Linked DNA regions of Homo sapiens: regions 1 and 2 are each linked to region 3. The links are contacts of gene promoters, found by promoter capture Hi-C in human tissues and cell types (Jung and others, 2019). All regions are on one chromosome and are shown on one strand. The core of a region is centred on a gene start or on the middle of the fragment in contact, and the rest is flanking DNA. Distances in the headings are between cores, read along the strand shown.

Evidence for each region. Contacts are between HindIII fragments. The study calls those that stand out against the background at their distance.
Region 1: a fragment that was not itself captured here is called in contact with the fragment with the promoter of OC90 in region 3 in 1 of the 25 tissues and cell types used here (dorsolateral prefrontal cortex).
Region 2: a fragment that was not itself captured here is called in contact with the fragment with the promoter of OC90 in region 3 in 2 of the 25 tissues and cell types used here (dorsolateral prefrontal cortex and thymus).

What each region holds. Positions count from the first base shown.
Region 1 is chr8:132,662,674-132,665,573 of GRCh38, reverse strand. The region is part of intron 1 of DNAAF11 (dynein axonemal assembly factor 11); the gene reads left to right. Among named protein-coding and RNA genes, the nearest start is that of DNAAF11, 11 kb to the left of the region's middle. The HindIII fragment of the contact is 6,882 bases long and covers 1-2,900 here.
Region 2 is chr8:132,615,481-132,618,430 of GRCh38, reverse strand. The region is part of intron 7 of DNAAF11 (dynein axonemal assembly factor 11); the gene reads left to right. Among named protein-coding and RNA genes, the nearest start is that of HPYR1, 55 kb to the right of the region's middle. The HindIII fragment of the contact is 4,801 bases long and covers 1-2,950 here.
Region 3 is chr8:132,057,759-132,060,814 of GRCh38, reverse strand. OC90 (otoconin 90) reads left to right here and starts at 1,433. Exons shown (of 14, transcript NM_001080399.3): 1 at 1,433-1,474. RefSeq lists enhancers at 1,786-2,362, 2,363-2,940. The HindIII fragment of the contact is 9,699 bases long and covers 1-3,056 here.

The sequences.
Region 1 (2,900 bases), core at 108-2,607, 600 kb before region 3:
AGCCATTCTGACTGGTATGAGATGGTATCTCATTGTAGTTTTAATTTGCATTTCTCTGATGACTAGTGATGTGGAGCTTTTTTTTTTAAAGTTTGCTGGGCACTTTTGTGTCTTCCCAAAGCATTTTTAAATCTCTAGAATGATCTCACGTAATTGCAGTGCTATATTATTTGGAGTAGAAATTTCTAAAGGCGAATAATGCTCCTTGGACTTAAAGAATGTTTGCTCTAAATTAGACAGTATATAAAACCGAAAATGCTTTCCTGTTCAAAAGCATGAAACACTATAATCTCCATGCACCATGAAGATATCTTTACACATTTCTTCTCGGGGGCTCTGGTTTTTGTTCTGATGTTTGCCATTACAGGTGAAGCAGCACTGTGTAACAACAATTTCCTCAGCGCTATAAAATGGTAAGCCACACGGCAGTTTGCTTGTCATAGGAGAGTTTAGAAAAGATCTGCTGGGAAATTTCCACATCTTCACAGTTCTGTCCTCCTCTGCAATTATTTATTTTCTTTTAATGTATCCTAATTGTATATAATCATTGCTGTCCAGGCAAACTTCTCTGTTGTGTCCCTTCTTTCCTTTGTGTGTGTGTGTAATTTAGTTATTCATGCTAAGGGAGGCTCCCTAAACTCCACCTCTTTAAATTAATAGGGATTTTTCTCATCTTAATTCTCATGGTTAGAAGATATGAATCAATATAATTCTTTCCTAATACTTACATGCCTTCGAAAGAGAAGATTTGACAGTTGCATGAAGTGATTGGTTTTACACACGTAATACCTTGATGAAGAGAGTTTCTTGGTTGGTCGCAGTGGCTCACACCTGTAATCCCAGTACTTTGGGAAGCCAAGGTGGGTGGATCGCTTGAGTCCAGGAGTCTGAGACCAATGTGGACACGATGGTGAAACCCTGTCTTTACAAAAAAAAAAAAAAAAATTAGCTGGGTGTGGTGGCGCATGCCTGTAGTTCCAGCTACTCAGAAGGCTGAGGTAGGAGGATCCCTTGATCCTGGGCTGCAGCAAACTGTAATCGTGCCACTGCACTCCAGCCTGGGTGACAGAGTGAGACCGTGTCTCAAAGGAAGAAAGAGTTTCTTAAATGTTCAGAGGTATAGCAAGAGAATACTACAAGGATATTTGGTACCAGTAGAAACTTTGTCAACCCTGGAAATCTTTAAGAGTGGGCAATTTAGAAAAGCCTTTCACAGTGTAGACTAGAGGCGCCTGTGATACCTTGAGCAGCCCTGAGAGTCAGAAAGTCCCACATGGCAGTATGAGGCCAGAGACCAAGTGATGCTTAAGATTCTATCAGAAGTCCCCTGAACACATTCGACTTAACCATGGATGACATCTCCTTTGGAGTTCAAATTATATCTTCAATATGGATACAAAACTAAGCCTTCAACTAGAATCTGGGGCAAGAGTATAAGTAAAGGCCTATGTATCAAGTTATAAACCAAACTGCTAAATAAAATATGTCTTCTTACCTTGACAAGTATACTTTCCTAACAACCTGAGGGCTGCATTTCCTATGCTGGAGTTCTATGACAGAGCATGGTGGATTGGGGAAATCTTGCCCTCTGGCCCACTCTTCCCTTTTCTTCCCATCTCTGACTCTGTCCTGGCCCCTAACACCCATGTATGAGCATGGACACTCCAGCCTATACATCCATGCCATCCACCTCCCTGACAAACAGCTGACCCTTGGACATCCCTTAGGCGTTGGGATATGTACCTGATGTCATGGTCTGTCTTCAGGAACGAACCTGGAGAAGCTGCCATTGCAAGGTTTAGAGTAAGGCTTGGAGCCCCTTGAACAGAGAATCCCATTGTTCCTTCCATGGGCCATGGTCTAGAGAGGAAGACTTGGGCTCTGGATGGGCACGTCCTCCTGGCCCCATGGACTCCAGTTCTAATAGTAGCAAGGCCTCCAACAATCCACCCCCTTGCTCTATGGATTTGAGTAGTTTAAGTTACAGATATACCGTTAGTCATTGAGGGTCTTATTACTAGTGGTCAGTAATTTCCACATTTTGTTAAATGTACAGATAACAAGGTTGTGCAATCTCAACCCCTTGACCCATGTTGCATCCTTGCTAAGAGAATTCTTATAGGTAAATTACAGATCTAGATCATACATTTACTTTACACAGGAGCATTGCTCTATCCTCTGGCTGTACCCATTTATTCATTATCAGTTGATTTAAGCTGTTAGAACCAACTTTGGTTAGGAGGATAGAGAGTAGTTTTAATGCTCTTCTCTTACAGGTTTGGTTTTTCTCTTTTCCTTGATTATAGCACCCTATTTAAGCTGGTTCACAAACCATTATTGGAATTCCAGGGACAGCTGAATGGTGCTGGCAGCAGGGTTCCCAGCGAGCCAGGCTGGTGGTGGTGTACTGTTAGCCTCCTTCCTGGGCGCTTTGGGCTGTCCCTTACCAGGATCTGGTTTGTGACCATCTCTGCCTGTTAGTTGAGCCAAAGCTTAGAGCAGCAAGGACTTTCCCCATGTATGGTATTTTAATCTCTCAACCTCTACATTGCTCTGGTCCTTCTTATAAAGAACTGTCATTGCAAGCACCCGTATCTCCTACCACTAGAAGTAGCAGAGAGTTTAGCTAACTCCACATGAATGATAAGTTCGTACATGTTTTTACATTTAATAAAAAGGCAAATTCCACTTTTAAGGATGTGACATAGAGGTGTGGTAGCAGAAGTTGCTGTGAAGAACTCTGTCTCAGCTAGAGGAGTCTGCACCTTCAGGAAACCTGGAATTTCTAGAGGCTGTTATTTGCTTATGCTTGAGACAGTGGAGCATAGTGGTTAAGAGCAGGTGGTCTGGCACTAAACCATGAATTTAAAACCTGGCTCTAGCACTTATCACCAAGACCC
Region 2 (2,950 bases), core at 286-2,785, 560 kb before region 3:
TTTTGTTGCCATTGCTTTTGGTGTTTTAGACATGAAGTCCTTGCCCATGCCTATGTCCTGAATGGTAATGCCTAGGTTTTCTTCTAGGGTTTTTATGGTTTTAGGTCTAACATTTAAGTCTTTAATCCATCTTGAATTGATTTTTGTATAAGGTGTAAGGAAGGGATCCAGTTTCAGCTTTCTACATATGGCTAGCCAGTTTTCCCAGCACCATTTATTAAATAGGGAATCCTTTCCCCATTTCTTGTTTTTCTCAGGTTTGTCAAAGATCAGATAGTTGTAGATATGCGGCATTGTTTCTGAGGGCTCTGTTCTGTTCCATTGATCTATATCTCTGTTTTGGTACCAGTACCATGCTGTTTTGGTTACTGTAGCCTTGTAGTGTAGTTTGAAGTCAGGTAGTGTGATGCCTCCAGCTTTGTTCTTTTGGCTTAGGATTGACTTGGCGATGTGGGCTCTTTTTTGGTTCCATATGAACTTTAAAGTAGTTTTTTCCAATTCTGTGAAGAAAGTCATTGGTAGCTTGATGGGGATGGCATTGAATCTGTAAATTACCTTGGGCAGTATGGCCATTTTCACAATATTGATTCTTCCTACCCATGAGCATGGAATGTTCTTCCATTTGTTTGTATCCTCTTTTATTTCCTTGAGCAGTGGTTTGTAGTTCTCCTTGAAGAGGTCCTTCACATCCCTTGTAAGTTGGATTCCTAGGTATTTTATTCTCTTTGAAGCAAAAAGACAGGGATGCCCTCTCTCACCACTCCTATTCAACATAGTGTTGGAAGTTCTGGCCAGGGCAACTAGGCAAGAGAAGGAAATAAAGGGTATTCAATTAGGAAAATTTGCAGACAACATGATTGTATATCTAGAAAACCCCATTGTCTCAGCCTAAAATCTCCTTAAGCTGATAAGCAACTTCAGCAAAGTCTCAGGATACAAAATCAATGTACAAAAATCACAAGCATTCTTATACACCAACAACAGACAGAGAGCCAAATCATGAGTGAACTCCCATTCACAATTGCTTCAGTACCATCCTTCTTAAAGCAATTTCTTCCCTTTACTTCTGATTTTTCTTCTATCTTACTGACTGCTCATCTTCCTAAGCTTTGACAGATCCTTTTGATTTTGTTTTTTGGGTGCCCTATAACAAACTCCTCAGCTGTCTTCCCTTTTCACATTCGCTCTTCATGGCTCTCACCAAATCCCATGGCTGTAAACACTCCCTTTACATTTCTCCCAACTCGATCCAACCTCTTCTCTGAGCTCAAGACTTGTCTATTCAGTTATGTTGTTAAGAATATATAGTTCCTCTTCAGAGGGTTTCGGTTCCTGGTTCTTTGTTCTATTCTAAAAGATAATTGTACCCATTCATCTGTCAGCCCTCCCTATCTCTACTGTGCCCAAACACCCCAAGATATACCGTACCTTTCCTTCCTGTGAAATGCCCACTGTTGCCTCCTTTGATGATGTCAACAGTAGCCAATCAGAATTAGCCTAGATTGAGCGGTCCAACCCCAGCCTGCAGTGGAAGGACATAGGAATAGGGTCTGTGTTAGGGATAAAAAACTCCTGCTCTCCTTTGTTTTGCTCACTCTCCCTTGCCTCTGCCTTGCATGCAGGAAGTGCCCTTCTATAGAAGTATATTGCCTTGCTGAGAAAACTTTTGCCTGAGTGCTGGTTTCACTTTGTGGCACTGAAAATTTGTTTCTAACAATTAGCTGTTTGACATCACTGGGTGGATATAAGAGAGTCATTGCACACTTATGACGACTAAAAGAGAACCCCTGATTTCCAGCCTCACTAACACTCTCCAGCATCGTGTGCTTGTGTCCCTGTGTTCTCCATCTCAGTAACACACATTCACCCCTTGGCTAAGACCAGAAACCTTGGATTCTCCCTTAATTCTTCTCTCCCTCATTTTATCAGTGCGTCCTATGAACTCTTCCTTCGATATTATCAGAATCCAGCCACATCTCACTGACCCCACCACCACCACTAGTGGACACTAACTCTTGCTTGGACAGTTGCAATTGCTTATTAAGCAGTCTCCATGGTTTATCTGTTGGCCTCCTACATTCTGTTCTACTCAGCTAAATAAAGAAGAAAAAAGGGAAGAAAGGATACACGCTCCTTTTCTTAAGGGACATTCTTAGAAAGTGCCATACAACGACTGTCCCTCACATGACCTCACCCACCTGCAAGGGAGGCCAGAGAATGCAACCTTTATTGTACATAGCCATGCCCCTAGTTAAAACCATGGTTCCTGTCACTAGGAATAAAGGGGAAGCAGATAGCAACTAAATAGCAATCTCTGCCATAGGAAAATTCTCTGAAATTACTTTACAAGTAATAAGCAATCGAGGCAGAGCAGGAGCATATAAAAAGGCTCCTGAGATGAGGTTCTACAAATGCATGGGTCATTTGAGACACTGAAGAAGTCCCACAGGCCTGACTATTGAAAGCAATGAGACAGTGCCTGCCACAAGCAGAAATGGGGCGAACAGCCAAATCTATCGCTAACTTCACATTTTCCTAAACAGTTTAGCTTATGTTCTTTAATATTGTTGAGTTGTATGTTTTATAGAGTAATACAGTAACTGAAATGTTCAAAAGAAAATTGACCAGGCAATTCTGATAGTATGTTGTTCAGTGTGGAAGCTAGACCTAGGACTCAACCTCGGGGTACAGTTGAAAGATGGTGGAGCTTTGAAATCCTGCCTAGCCAGGCTCGTGCAGAGAAAGTGTAAAGGCATTTATTATAATTCAGCTATGCCAACCTCTTTGAACCTCTGTTTCTTCATCTATAAAACAGAGGTAATAGATAATGAGCAGTGTCTCAGCCTTTTTCAGGGCAATGGAAAGGTCAGCGATGAAAGGAGAAGAAAAAAGATAGCAAGAAAAAAGAAGGAAGACAGGACTCTAAAACTTAAGGAATAGAATGCAGGAT
Region 3 (3,056 bases), core at 184-2,683:
GAAAAAATGATCCTTCTCAAAACCCCATGAAATGTCTCGAACAAGATACCTATGTAGATTGTTATGCCTTTGTATTGCTCAGGCATAATAACAATCTCAGTTATGCTCTTGAGCATAATAACAATCTCAGCTATGCTCTTGAGATGCTGAAAAGATGGATTTTGCTGCACTGAGCCATAGATGCCCACGGGCTTAGTCATTTTAGAGATGGTGGGTCTTTGGTGCTAATGAGAAAATATTACAGACAATGCATCTTCATTCCTCAAATCACATGAGATGCTGAACAATAGTTAATGATCTACAAACACAAGCCTCAATGAATGAGAGTAATTACTTATTTGAAGAAGCCCTTCAATGGGTTCTTCCATAGAGGCTCAATTGTGCCCTGATTTAATCGTTTGAGGAGTCCTGCTTCTTCAGGAGGTGGCCATAGAGTGAGCAACTCAGAGGGTTCACAGCCAGGCTAACCTGCATTCCAGAATGCTTCCATTACACGTGAGCTTCTACAATGCCTCAACCTCAACGACACCATTTTTTCTCATCTGTAAAGTGGAGCTAATTAATCCTTGCTCCTAGGATTATGAAAGCAGTAATGGAAGGGCTGCTGCAGGGATGATGAGGGCAAAATCCTATAAAACACTTGTGGTACATTACACGTACTCAATAAATGCCAGTTCTCCTTTCAAAATCAGGAAAGAAAACCCTTCACAAGGCGATATGAGGAAGTGACAAAAAGAACTAGGACTTAATGAGCCCCCATACCACACACTATATATGGCTTTCTTCAGCCTCGAAATCTTAGTAGGATTAAGCCCATTTAACAGATGTGGAAGCTAAAGCTGAGCAGTGACAAACTCAAGGTCACACTGCTACTCAGTAGCAGGGCTGGCAGAGGAACCTTGGGTGTCTGATTATAAAGCCCCACCTCACCCTACCCCACAGCTTGGGCAGAAAAGCCCTAAAGGAAAGAGGCATCAAATTCCGAGATCTGAGGCCAAGAACATATAAGAAGAATCACGCTAGAAATCCTCTTGCTAAAGAATGAACTAGACCAGACAAAGCCAGCCCTTTATCTTGCAGGAGAGCCCACATGACTTTCATCAGTCTTTCATCCCCCGAGAGTTCCCATGATGACCCTGAGACATAATCCATGGGCCTCCTAGCCTTTGAGGTGAGGTGGGGTAGAACAGGGAACCCATTGTTCTCTAATTAGAGCCTGAGGTCTCCTCTGAGGCTCAAGATGGGGCTTCTTAATATGGAGCCTTCACCTGTTCCAAGCTATAGTATTATGATGCCTCCTCCCTTCAGAGGCAGCCCACCTGCCAACATTCATGAAAGGCTTCCTTCTTGATGTGAGGAGTGGGGAGAGGCATCACATGGCTAAGGGTCTTTCCTTGGGGTATAAAGGACTCAGTCTGCACCTGTTCAAACCCTAGCATCATTCATCCAGCTGCACTCCAGTGGAGCCTTCACGGTAGGCATCTGTTATTCCTGATGGTTGGGGAGACAGAGAGCAGGGGAGGGAGGGAGGGAGGAAGACAGCAAGTAAAGGAGGGAAATGAATGGGAGAAGAGAAGAAGGGAGGGAGAAAGAGAAGGAGGGGGAGAGGGAGGGATGGAGGAAAAGAGTGAGGGAGGGAGGGAAATGGTTGGGAGATGGAAAGAGGCAGAAAGGGTAGGAGGAAGGAGGGGAGGGAAGAAAAGTAGGAGAAATTGATGAAGGAAGAAAAGGAGGGAGAAAGAGAGGGTAGAAGGGAGGGAGGGAGAGAGGGAAAGAGGGAGGAAGGGAGAGAAGAATGGAGGGGAAATGAGGAGATAAATGAATGGAGGATAAGGTGGTAGGGGATGCTCTCAGGGCTGTCTGAGACCTGGATGTTGCTCCAGGATATAGCTGAAAACCCAAATTGCTCTGAGTCGATCTGTGAAAAGATGCAATGCCAGACAGAGAGCACCTGGCAAATTTACCCGGGGGAAAAATCCACCACTTCACATTAGTGAGGATCCTACATAGCCCTGGGCAATGACCCCGCCCACGGCACCTGGTGTGGAAACACAATCAGCATTAATTATGGGCAGTCCTCACTGAGCACTGAGCAAGTGCCGGAGATGGTGTTCTACCTTTATAAGACTCATCAGATTTAACCCTCATGATTCCCTGATGAAAAAACACCATTATATGCATTTCGCTGCCCAGGAAAATGAGTTCCAGGCATCTTCAGTGCCTGGCTCAGGGCACTCGACAAGCAAAAGGCAGAGCCTGAACTCCCTGACCCCAGCCCAGGTCTGTCCGACCAGCAAGGCCTTGGGCTCAGACACTGGCTATGCAGCCATGAGACCGGCCATTGGGAGACAGCTAGGGGAGCCGGGACTCCAAACCTGGCATGCAGACCAAGGCGAGGCTTCGGGAGCCTTCTCAGGCCCACAAGGACAGCACTGACCCATGAGGCCACGACAGCCCCAGAGACTTCCTTGGGCAAATTAGGAGAAGGAGGTCTTTCCTCCAGGTAGACACAGCCCCACAGCCAAGGGCGCCTGACTTGGCCAACAGGAGGATACTGGATTTCAGAAGCAGCCCCACACCATCCCACCCACGTACCCTAATGTGCACGTACCCCAGATTCGGGTCATCCTCACTGTTGCCCAGGGCTGACCACGTGCTTCTAACTGGCACCTTCTAGCTGGCACTGACTTTCCTTCTTTGTGCGCAGCAAGGAAGCTGTCACCTGCTGTGTTTCACCACACCCTAGCAAGAAGCTGGCCACCCTAAGGGTCTTCCCAAGCAAGTACTACCGATAATTGTGACAGTTACGCAGTGAGTCATCACTGGAATGCTTAGTTTGTCTCAAAGGACCGGCCTAGCAGTTTAGGGTATTGGAGCCAGAACAAGTCAGACTGGCCCACCTGGGTCTGGTCATTGCCAGAGCGCCCCCTTCTGGGCAAGGGCCACCCTGGCAAGTGACTCACCCTCTGAGCCCAGTTTCCTGGTCTAGAAAGTGAGACGTCTTGATAGCCAAAGTCTTGGAGGGTTGTCACCAGACAGCAAGTGGGGCATGCTCA